2 separate regions of the Homo sapiens genome follow, and region 1 is linked to region 2. Evidence: promoter capture Hi-C in 16 types of primary human blood cells and fetal thymus (Javierre and others, 2016). All regions are on one chromosome and are shown on one strand. The core of a region is centred on a gene start or on the middle of the fragment in contact, and the rest is flanking DNA. Distances in the headings are between cores, read along the strand shown. Region 1 overlaps ZNF740 (zinc finger protein 740). Region 2 holds the start of TNS2 (tensin 2).

What was found. The method cuts DNA at HindIII sites, captures the fragments that hold promoters and counts their contacts. A CHiCAGO score of 5 or more calls a contact.
Region 1: a fragment that was not itself captured here is called in contact with the fragment with the promoter of TNS2 in region 2 in 2 of 17 cell types (M0 macrophages and M1 macrophages); the score reaches 7.0 in M0 macrophages.

What each region holds. Positions count from the first base shown.
Region 1 is chr12:53,186,269-53,191,572 of GRCh38, forward strand. ZNF740 (zinc finger protein 740) reads left to right here. Exons shown (of 7, transcript NM_001004304.4): 6 at 123-241; 7 at 1,233-5,304. The coding sequence ends at 1,322. It overlaps ITGB7 (integrin subunit beta 7), which reads right to left. Exons shown (of 16, transcript NM_000889.3): 16 at 5,055-5,304. The coding sequence ends at 5,288. Among named protein-coding and RNA genes, the nearest start is that of CSAD, 8.0 kb to the left of the region's middle. RefSeq lists a silencer at 3,817-4,111. The HindIII fragment of the contact is 3,821 bases long and covers 797-4,617 here.
Region 2 is chr12:53,046,632-53,051,695 of GRCh38, forward strand. It overlaps TNS2 (tensin 2), which reads left to right and starts at 3,434. Exons shown (of 29, transcript NM_170754.4): 1 at 3,434-3,629. The coding sequence starts at 3,555. All of the region lies in intron 2 of TNS2-AS1 (TNS2 antisense RNA 1), which reads right to left. RefSeq lists enhancers at 3-52, 750-1,594, 1,595-2,438 and silencers at 563-632, 703-1,292. The HindIII fragment of the contact is 14,276 bases long and covers 1-5,064 here.

The DNA of each region.
Region 1 (5,304 bases), core at 1,457-3,956, 140 kb after region 2:
TCCCCATTTATGATCACTTAGGTGTCTACACATTACTAAGAGTTAAAGTTTCTGAGAAAACTGGAATGAGGTCCCTACTGTACATACCTCCCCACATTCACTTCTCTGTCCACCTGGGCCAGGTGAGAAGCCATTTGAATGCGATATATGTGATATGCGTTTCATCCAGAAGTACCACCTGGAACGCCACAAGCGTGTGCACAGTGGTGAAAAGCCTTACCAGTGTGAACGGTGTCATCAGGTAAGGCTCATCCCTGCTACAATACCCCACACACACTTTTCCTTCCCCAAGAATCAGGGCCACCCTCCACTCCTGCCTGACAAAAGAGCCACCAGCGTTACTCGCCATAATAGTTAACACATCGGGGTGAAGTGCATCTGTCTGGCCTTATGCAGCTGATCATGGGGAGCAGCAATTAGAACATTGTAATAATAATAATAATAGCATTCCATATCACTTACTCTATGCCAGGCACTGTGAGAGCATACTTTACATAGATGATTTTATTTAATCCTCACATTGACTCCCTAAGGTAGCTGTATTGTCCTTATTTCACGTATGGGAAAATTGAGATTCAGAGAAGTTAAGTTTCCCAGGGACACCGCAGATCACGAACAGAGCTGGGATTCAGTCCAACTTCAGAGCTAATGCACTTTGGAGGAAGAGATACAATCTTTGCCCTGGGGGTCAGTATCTGATCTGATGAGAATGTAAGAGCTGGGGCCAAAACAAGACAAGAACAAGAGATGAGAAATGATAATAGCTAACACTTCCTGGATGCATTGCTAGGTCCCAAGCTTTGCTCTGCACTCTTACACTGAATCTTCAGACGCTAGAATAAAAGCTCCATGAGGGCAGAGACTTTGTTCCTCTGGTTCTCTACTCTGTATCTGCCTTGAGATAGATACTCAATAAATCTTTGATGAATAAAGCAGCTGTGCTGTGAGTAGGTACTTTTAGCCTCGCTTTGCAGTTTTGCAGATGAGTATGCAGATTCTGGGCTGTTAGGTAACTTGCCCAAGGTCACACAGCTGCTGAGTGATAGAGCCAAGATTCAGCCCCAGGCGGTCTGGCCTGAGAGCTTGGATTCTCCACCACCGTGTGCTCCTGCTGTCTGTGCACGTGCTGAGGGGATGGAGAATGTGGTATCTGCCTCCTGTGAGAGGAATGAGTTAGCCAACAGGTAGCTGCGTTTGTCTGCTCAGGCACTTAACCCTCCCTTTCTTCTCAGTGTTTTTCTCGGACAGATCGATTACTCAGACACAAACGGATGTGCCAAGGGTGCCAGTCCAAGACTTCCGACGGGCAGTTTTCTCTATAGGCGCAAGGGGCCCCGGGTGGTGGGAGTGATCAGAAGAACCTGCCGAAGAGCACACCCCCTCTGGTCTGATGGTCCCACCACCGCCCCATGTGAACCTGTCCCACTCCTGGAGGAGTGGACCCAGGAGACCAGAAGAGTGCATCAGGGGACAGTGGCCCCAGAACCTCAGCTCTGTAAATAATCTGAGACTATGAGTATCTCGGGGAAGTTCTTACAGCATTCCTGGGTAGGGGAGCTAGTCCCTGGACCCTTGGCTGAGGTCATAGGTGGGGACTCAAGGTACAGGACCAAGACTGAAGTGTGGCTCCCACAACCTTGGACTCCAGCTGGCAGCTGAAATGGAAAAGATTGGGGAAGGGGATTTGTTTGTTCTGTTCTTGTTTTTGTTTATCCAAAAGCAACTTCAGCGGGTAAACTGTGGATACAGGTAATCCAGAGGCATAAGAGTCCTGGTCCAAAGTAGGGACTATAGCTGGTCCAGCTCTCCCCAAAAATTGGGTTTTTAGTTGCAGTAGCTCCTCAGTGTTTCACAATCCTGCACTTCGCCTCCTTTTTGAGGAAGAATAAGGTCAGGAATGGCAGCTGAGCTTACTTTGGCTTCCTTATACACTGTAGGGACAAAAGGAAAAACGGGGTGGAGCAGACAAGGGCTGGATCCAAAAAGTGGATGGCACCTCTTCCTTCCTCAAGGGAAAAGGAAGAGTTGTGCCAGTGGGTGTTGTCATGGCCCATGTCACATTGGCACCTGATGGCATCAGCTCAAATGCCTTTAGGAGGAAACTTGGGTGAGAGTGGCCCATGAAGCCCTTTTCTTCTTTTTTTGGGGAGTCGGTCTTGGAGATGGTATGTGGCTACCTCGCTGCCATTGACTCCTAAAGTGAGACAGATGTGTTGAGCAAGGAGTCATGGAAGTCAAAGTGGGTTCTCTCTCCTTGTGCCCTCTTAGGAACAACCCAAGACTGGTCCCAAGTTGGCTAACAGCTGCTCAAGAAACAAAGGAATCTGGGGTCTTCTGACATGCCTGTTGAGCAGTAGGAGCTGTTCTCCCTCCCCAAGTCCTATCACTGTATTCAGGTAGAGGAGGTAGGGAGGGGTCTGTCCTTTGGTCCCAAAAAACAAGATCTCGGCTTGCTTCCTGATGGCCATCCCTACCCAACAGAGTGTGGGGGATGGGGGTGGGGGTGCTGCAGAGAAAAGACTAAAGAAGAAACCTAATGTAGGTTCCATTCTTAACCATATTCTTTGCTCCTCTCTGCTCCAATACCACCACCTTGTCCACTCCCAAAAAAGTAATCGGGTGTGTGTGTGTGTGTGAGAGAGAGTGTGTGTGAGATATGAATGCATGTATTTGTATGCTTGCAGGAGATGGCATATTATTGAGCCAAACCCTTCTCTGGCCCTCACCTTCAGGGAGGATGAGTGGAAAATAGCCTCCTCTTGCCCAAACATGAAGGGTGCTTGAGGTCTCAGCAGGAGCTGAAGAACACAATTTGGGGAACAGAAGGGCTTTTGTTTTGGAGGGTTTTTTTTTTTAAGATGAATTCAACAGCCTGGTGGTTAGGATGTTTCTAACCCAAGCCAGGGCTTGTGAACATGAATTTTCTAAGGTGAAATAAACCTTTTCTTTCTGCTAAAGAAAGAATCCTTATGGGAAGTTTTGGGGTTTGGTTGACCCCCACTGTAACCTGACCTGACCTGTGGCGGGTACGGGAACTGTCTTAGTAATCATGGAGACTGGCTGAACCTGAGTGCCAAGCTGTCAGTAGGGTCTGAGATGGGAAACTCCTGAAAGTATGATTTCATTTCCCAGAAAATGTAAAGAATGGATACCAGCAATGATTCCTGGCTGTTACCTATTCTGGAGGGGTGGGGTTGGGGAGGGGGTTGTCCATACCTCTGTGGTATGAGTATTTCAGGGAAAAAGAAAGCAGGCATGGCACCCATTCGATTTTCCCTGACAGCATCTGAGATCCTTTTGGGGAGACGCTGAGGAGTGTTTGCTGCCATGTACTCTTACAGCTCTATGCTGACACTCCCATTTGATGTGGTCCAGAACTTAGACCTCAGTCCTTGGATCAGCCCTGTGGTCCCTGCAAGCAGGGGCATCTTTCTGCATGTGAGCCAGCCCCCTTCCTGTTCAAGGGTTCTGCTGGATCTGGGCTTTTCCTGTCCTTCACTTCTGGGATGATTCACCCCACATCTTCCAGTACCCTGTAAACCATTTTAAAATATTTAGAAAACTATCCTCCCAAAAATGCTTTTGAAAATGAGAGCCCTCTGTCCCTGCCACTTACAGCTAGTCTCTTTGGGATAGGGGTGTATGTGGAGAGATTCATGTAAGTCTCACATGAGTGACCTGTGCCCCTATGTGTACTAATGTGTGTACTGGGTCAGAAGGTGCCCTGGGTTCCCACAGACCTTGGTTTCCTGCCTGGGTGGGTGGGAGGGAGGGAACTTCAGAGAGTATGTGCGAACAGCCATAGCAGAGCCACCCCTGCCAAGGACCCAGTGAGGGAAACTCAGGAGCAGGTGGTTGGTTCAGTTCCCGCGCTGATGTCTGGGGCAGTGCATGTGTGAGAAGAGAGGCGCAAAGCAGTGAAAGGAGTGATTTGGCATCCAGAGGGCCCGGGAGCCCCACGGATACCCCAGGGAAGCCACTGACTCACACCGCTGCAGAGGCTCCTGGGCCCAATGCCCGACCCCTGCTGGCCAGCATGGGGCCTAGCACTGGAAGATGCCTCAGGTGTGTTTGGAGTGGGGGAAACGGAAGTAGGGCACGCTCTCAGAGACCAGGATAGAGAGTCAGGGAACCTGGGAAAGAGTAGTGCCAGTTCCGGGTAGGCTGCTGCACCAGGCCCTACCAGCTCAGGCTATAAACAGTCTGCTTTGCCCCAAGTCTTTTCCGTCCACCCCCAACAGCCTTGTCATCACTTAGCTACTGATCACGCCCATGGCTTGACATTGGAGGGTTACATTAGTGGAGTCCGCCACAGCTTCGAACCCTCTCCCCAGATGCCCTTTGCCTCTGCTGTGGCCCTGGGGTTTTATCAACTGTCCCCTTCCTATCCTCCTCTCCACCCTGTTTTTTGTTTTTTTTTTTTTTAAATAATATTTTGCTATGGGGGAGGGGAATATCAAATGGACAAGATCACTTTTAAATGGTAGTTTTTATAAGATGTTATAAACTTGTATCTTTTTACCATTAAAGTGCAGTGTATGTTCCTTCGTGATATATTTAGGATATTTAAATAAAAGGAAAATGGGGCTTTTCTACATACTATCTCCTCTTTGGGGAAGCTTTTTCATACTGGTTTTAGTTGTTTTCCTTTTTTCTCCCTACATAATCACCCCACAACTTCCAGCACCCTATAAGCCATTTTAAAACCCCTTCTCCACAGAGGAACAAGCAAGTAGGAGCAAAAACAGGGCATCAGTTCTGAGCAAGACGAAAAAGCACACGCAGCAGGACGGAAGGAGGCTAGACACCAACAGATGCAGTGTCTCTGACCTGGGACCCCCCTGCATCCGCAGCACTTGAGAATTCATAGGCCCTTTCCAGACCTGGCTTCCTGGGTCCCAGGGTGCACCCCGGGAGTTTCCTGCACATTCGCGCTTGGGCACCTCTCCCTGCCCTCAGGTGGCAAGAGGAGGATGGACAAGAGCTTTCCCGAGGCCCAGGCTATAAACAGTCTGCTTTGGCCTTGATGAGGTAAAGCAAAGTGACAGCTGTGGTCTGAGGTAAGACTTTATTGTATACTTGGGTGGGGTAGCCCAGATGGATGCAAGGTTGCAGGCATGGGAAGCAGCCCTCTTGGGTGTCACTCTGAAAATGAAGTAGGGTGGTGGCCGCACCTCGCCAGTGAATTAGTCCCCTACCAAGGTCTTACAGACCCACCCTTCCTCTCACCCTCCAGTTCCCACTGTCCTCCAAGGAGAAGAGCCTTGGGTAAGTGTCCCTCCCTCCTTCAGAGAGTGGGACTGT
Region 2 (5,064 bases), core at 2,184-4,683:
AAGGGTGTCCAATGACTTGGGCCAAAAGTAACACCAGGTGTCTTCACCTGATTCAGGCGCCCGCCTGGGTAGGGGACGCTAGCACCACCAGGCTAAGCCACGGGTGGTCCTCTCAGGTCAGGCCCAAGCCCAGGCACACTCCTGTGGGGAGGGTAAGAGGCTGACGCTGCGCGGCAGTTCCCTGTCCCCTTGTTCCTAGTCCCTTCTAGACCTACGCCCACCGTTTCTTCTGCGTCTGTCTGGCTCGCGTGTTTCTTTCTGCCTGTGTCCCGCCGGGTCAGGCTCTCCCCGTCTCTCAGACTTTCCCGTCCCCGTGTCCTCCGCGGCCGTCTCTCTCCAACTCTCTCCCCCTCTCAGCCACTTCCTGTCTCCAGTATGTCCCTGGCGCGGCCCGGCTGGCCGTCTGCGCACCCTCTCTCCCCTCGGCTCTTTGTGAGTGTGGGTTCGCGGGAGAAGGTGGGGAGGAGAGGAGGCCGAGGGGTGGGGAGCTGGCGGAACGTGGGGATTGGAGCCGGGAGGGAGGAGGAGGAGGAGCGGGCTGCCACGGGCGCGGGCGCGGGCGCGGGGCGCGGCGGGGGCGGGAGGGAGCCCAGCCGAGCCCGGCCGCCCGCTCCCGCCACTGCCACCGCCTCCTCCTCCGCGTCCGCTCGGCGCGGGCACGGGCGGGATGGGCTGGCCCGGCGGCTCCCCCTGCTGCTGCCCCGCCCCGCCGCGCCCCCGCCCGGCCGGGCGCCCCCCGCAGGTGAGTGGCCGCGCCGCGCTGGGCGGGCGGCGGTCTCTGCGTCACGGCCGCGCGGGCAGTGCCAGGGGCGGGCGCCAGGGGGCGCGGGGCCGCCGGAGGTCGAGAGGGCGCGGGGCGCGGGGCGCGGCCCAGGGCTGGGGCCGGGGGCTCTGGCTGGCCGCGGAGAGCTGGGAGCAGCGGGAGGCCGGGACAGTGACTAGGGGGCGGGGCGCGGCCGCGGCCCTACTCGATCAGGCCGCCACGCCTTCCAGCACCCGGGGCGCACGGGGCCGCACGCCGTGCCACACACGCAGGCCCGGGACCCGGCAGCAGCTGGCAGCGGCGCTCGGGCCCCGGCCTGGCAGGGTGCGGGCGAACGTTTTCCTTTCCTGCTTCACATGTGGGACAGAGGCCGTAAGCGGGCACAGATGAGGCTGATTCGACTCGCCAGCCCCGCTCTGCGGCCCCCTCCAGTCTGCCCCCATCCTCCAGACCCTTCTGGGAACACCCCCAGAGCCGCCGCCCTCCCTCGCTCCTTCCCTGGGCCTTACCCCTCCTCCGCGGCGGCCGGGCTCCCAGCCTCCCTTCCAACCACAGCTATTTCCAGAAAGGGGGGTGTGGGTGGAGGGGTTTCTCCAAACAAACCCAAGACTTCGGAGAGAGAGGGGGCCCGGCTGGGGGAGAGGTTGACAGGCTCTGGAATGTTACAGGCGGGAGGAGGGTGAGGGTCCAAGAGGGTCTAGTGATGCCTTCCCAGCCCTCCTCAAGTGAGCTACTTTTCCCCTCGGGACTGGCTCATAGGGATCCCATCCCTGCTTCCCTTCCGAGGTGCGAGTGCCACAGGATGGGAGGGACTCACAGCCACAGTGGATCCTGACCACCCCACCCCTCACCGAGCTCACTGCTTGGGCACCTCCTTGCTGGGTCTGGGTGGGGAGTGTGAGACCAGTGAAGGTGAGAGGATGTCTGGGGACCTGTTCCAGGTGAGGGGACTTTCAGCCCCTATGGAGGCAGCAGGAGAGTGAAGCATGTAGAGGAGTCCTGGTCAGGGCCATGTGCCATAGGAGCAGAAGCTGGGACTGGACAGAAAAAAGCCACCCCCACTGCCCACCTTGTCACACTGCCCCATCTCCCCCAAGCAGGGCTGGGGGCTCGACAAGGCCAGGCCCGGTTGCCCACACTGGCCGGGGGCCTGGAATGTGCTGGGACACAGCCAGGCTGGCAGGATGGGGGTGGGTCACAGAGCCCGTGCTCCTCTCCAGTTACAGGCAGGGAGCCCAGGCCTGCCACACAGATGCCACCTTCTGGCCAGGATATCCTGGGGACACATTTCTTGGCCTGGAAAATTGGAGCTTCCAGGGAGAGGTGTCAGGCTAGGCCCAATCCAGTCAGGTCCTCGCAAGGGTCTCAAGTGGGCACCCACAGCAGGCCTCACCCCAGAGAATGCAGGATTCTTCATCCCAGGGAACCCATCCTGGTGGATATGAAGGAGCAGGAAGCAAGTAGAAGGGACTCCGTGGGAGAAGCCAGGGCTGGGGGAGTTGCCTGAGTACTGGGACATTCAATAAATACCATGCAAATGAGAGGGGCACATTTGCACATTCTTTCAAGTGACAGCTATAGCCTGTCCCAGGGGCTGCTGTCCACAGCTTGGGGCTGAAGACTCCCAGGCCATTAACCCCTTAGCTTTTAGGAAGATTACTCCCCCTTTTTCAAGGCCCCATCCACCTCCCTCCCTTGACTCCCAGGACGGGAAGTTGGCCATGTTCCCAGGAGGGAGGCCGGAGGCCCATGGATGGGGGTGGAGTATGTGTTGGGAGGGGGGACCTCCTGTCCAGTCCTCAGGCCCTGGGACAGCTGCTGAGGAAGGAGAGCAGACCCAGGAGAGCCATGAAGGTAGTACTCAGGCTTCGGGGTTGCCGCGGGGGGAGGGTGCAGCCCTTGGGTAGAGAGCCCAAGTTGCAGGGCTGGAAAGAGGGCTAGGGATCTGTGAGATCATGTCTGAAACAAAGCCAGGGAATGGGTGAGTGGGGGGCACTGTGTCAGGAGCAGAAACCTGGGGGCTTTCAGGAGAAGGGCCTCATATGCCTTAGGCTGTGGCAGGAGAATGGATTACTCCCCAAACCTGAGCAAAGCAGTCTTGTGGCTGGAACTTGGCCTTGCAAGGTGTATTGAGGGTAAAGGTGGGCGGTGCATGCTTTCCTTTTCCTACTTCATAACGAGTGAAACTGAGACAGGAAGGGGGCCCCCAGTCCCATTTTTACCTGACTCTCAGGACACACTCGGGATCCTGGGCCTGCCTGCTGGTAGTAGTTCCCAGCTCCACTCCCTCCCCAGCGGAAGTCCCTCGAGAGCTTGAGAGTTCAGGCTGGAGCCTGGCTGGGACACACTGTTCCCCACTTGCCCTTTAGCCCTGCCCCGAGACCAGAATTCTCACCCGGCCCCACCGGGGGTGGGGGCAGAATCTCAAGACCATGGATCCCTGCAGATCCCTGGAGAGTGTGGTGTCCCAGGTGTGGGACAACTCCAGAGTTGGGGGAGTAGGGGGAGCAAAAGATCACAGGCTGACACTCCCAGCAGGGTAGATCCTGGGAATCTGATCTCCTGGCCTCCCCCACATCCTCCCCCCTCCACTTCCTGGAGCAGCGACCTGCCCCCTTCCCGCCTGCACTTCCCTCCACTTCCAGGGCCGGGCTTCTCCTCACACCAGCCAGACAGCCTACCCTCCGCCCAGGGGAAGCGGCTGCCTCCGCCAGGCCGCTTCCAGGAAGCCCCGGGCCAGGCCCCAGCATTGTTCAGGCCCTGGGGCCAGCACCCCAGCCAGCCGAACACCATGAAGTCCAGCGGCCCTGTGGAGAGGCTGCTCAGAGCCCTGGGGAGGAGGGACAGCAGCCGGGCCGCAAGCAGGGTAGGAGTGCCCACCAGCTGGGCAAAAGAGGGGCAGGGGTGGAGGTGCGGGCAGTGGGGGAGGGGACCAGGAATCAGGCCAGGCCTTCTTCCCAATTTCAGCTTCCTCAGCCTTCTTCCCTGGCCCAGCATCCCCTCCGGAGTGGCCAGGGCTGTAGTGTGAGGGGATGTTTGGGTTAGAGTAGGTCCTGCTGTCTGTTTTGGCTCCTCTCACCTTCCCTGCTCTAGCCTGGGCCAACCCCAGGAGGTCCTGGCCCCCCAACATAAGCCCCAGGTGCCTCACTGCAGGACTTTGCCATGCGCTATCCAGGTATCCTCCAGCAGGCTCAGAGATCATCAGGCCCCTTCCCTGGCCCAGGGAAGTTTGAGGGAAATGGGGTGGCAGGGTGGAAAAAGAGAGAGGAGAGGGAGTCAGGAGTGCTTTGGAACTGGAGGTTTGCTTTCCACTGACAACATCCATATCTGCTGCTAATGCCAACATGCTCCCAAGTGTCTTAGTGGGTCCCACAAAGTTGATCCAGCCCAGAAGAGTTGCAGGGACAGTCAAGAAACCAGAGGTGCTGCCCACATCCCCATCACTCCCTTTCCCAACTTCCCAGCCTTGCCCCAAAAGCAGCAGCTCAGGACAACCTGAGATACTACTGTGATGGGTCCCCGGGAGGAGGACAGCAGGAGTCTGAACTCCAGAGGAGGGGGAATATGGGTAAAACAGAGAGATGGCAAGGAGACAAGCTGTCCCCAGACAGAGGATGGGAGGAGAGAACCCACAGTGGGAGGGGAAGGGACTGAGATAGGCCTGGGCCATAAGGGGGCATCCCAGGCTCCTGCCTCACTGCATCTCTGGGTCAGGAGGGGCTGAACAGGGAATCTGGTCCACTCCTTTCTCATTCAATGCGTGAATCCCAAGTGCCAGGGTGCAGGGGGTCGGGGGAGAACTCACAGCATCCAAAGCCAGCTAAACATCTCTCCCCAGTGACAGGCTTCTATCTGTTTCCCTCCAGCATGACCACCCCCATTACACAATTGCTGTCTGCTGCCTCAGTGCACAATGAGTAAACATGTTGTTCTGACCGTGGGGGAGGAGGGCATGTCAGCTGCCTGGAGCGTGGGGACAGCAGGAGCTAAAGGAGCAGGACTGGCTGAGGCCACTCCTGCCGGCTCAGTCTGGTGCTGCAGGACTGACATACAACACATATGTTTGGAACCTCCCTGCTCACTCTGCACACAGGTCTCCATGCGGGGAGGACAAGATGGGAAGAGTCAGGGAGTACCCTTACCACACCAGGGGGAAAGCCTGAGCATGGAGGCTTTTCCACAAGGGCATCACACACCAGGGCCATGTGAGGGGCCCAAGTGATCCCCTGGGGAGGAGCTGACCCAGCAAAGGTGACGCAAGGGGTCAGATTCCATGCACAGTTGAGGACAGGCCCCATGAC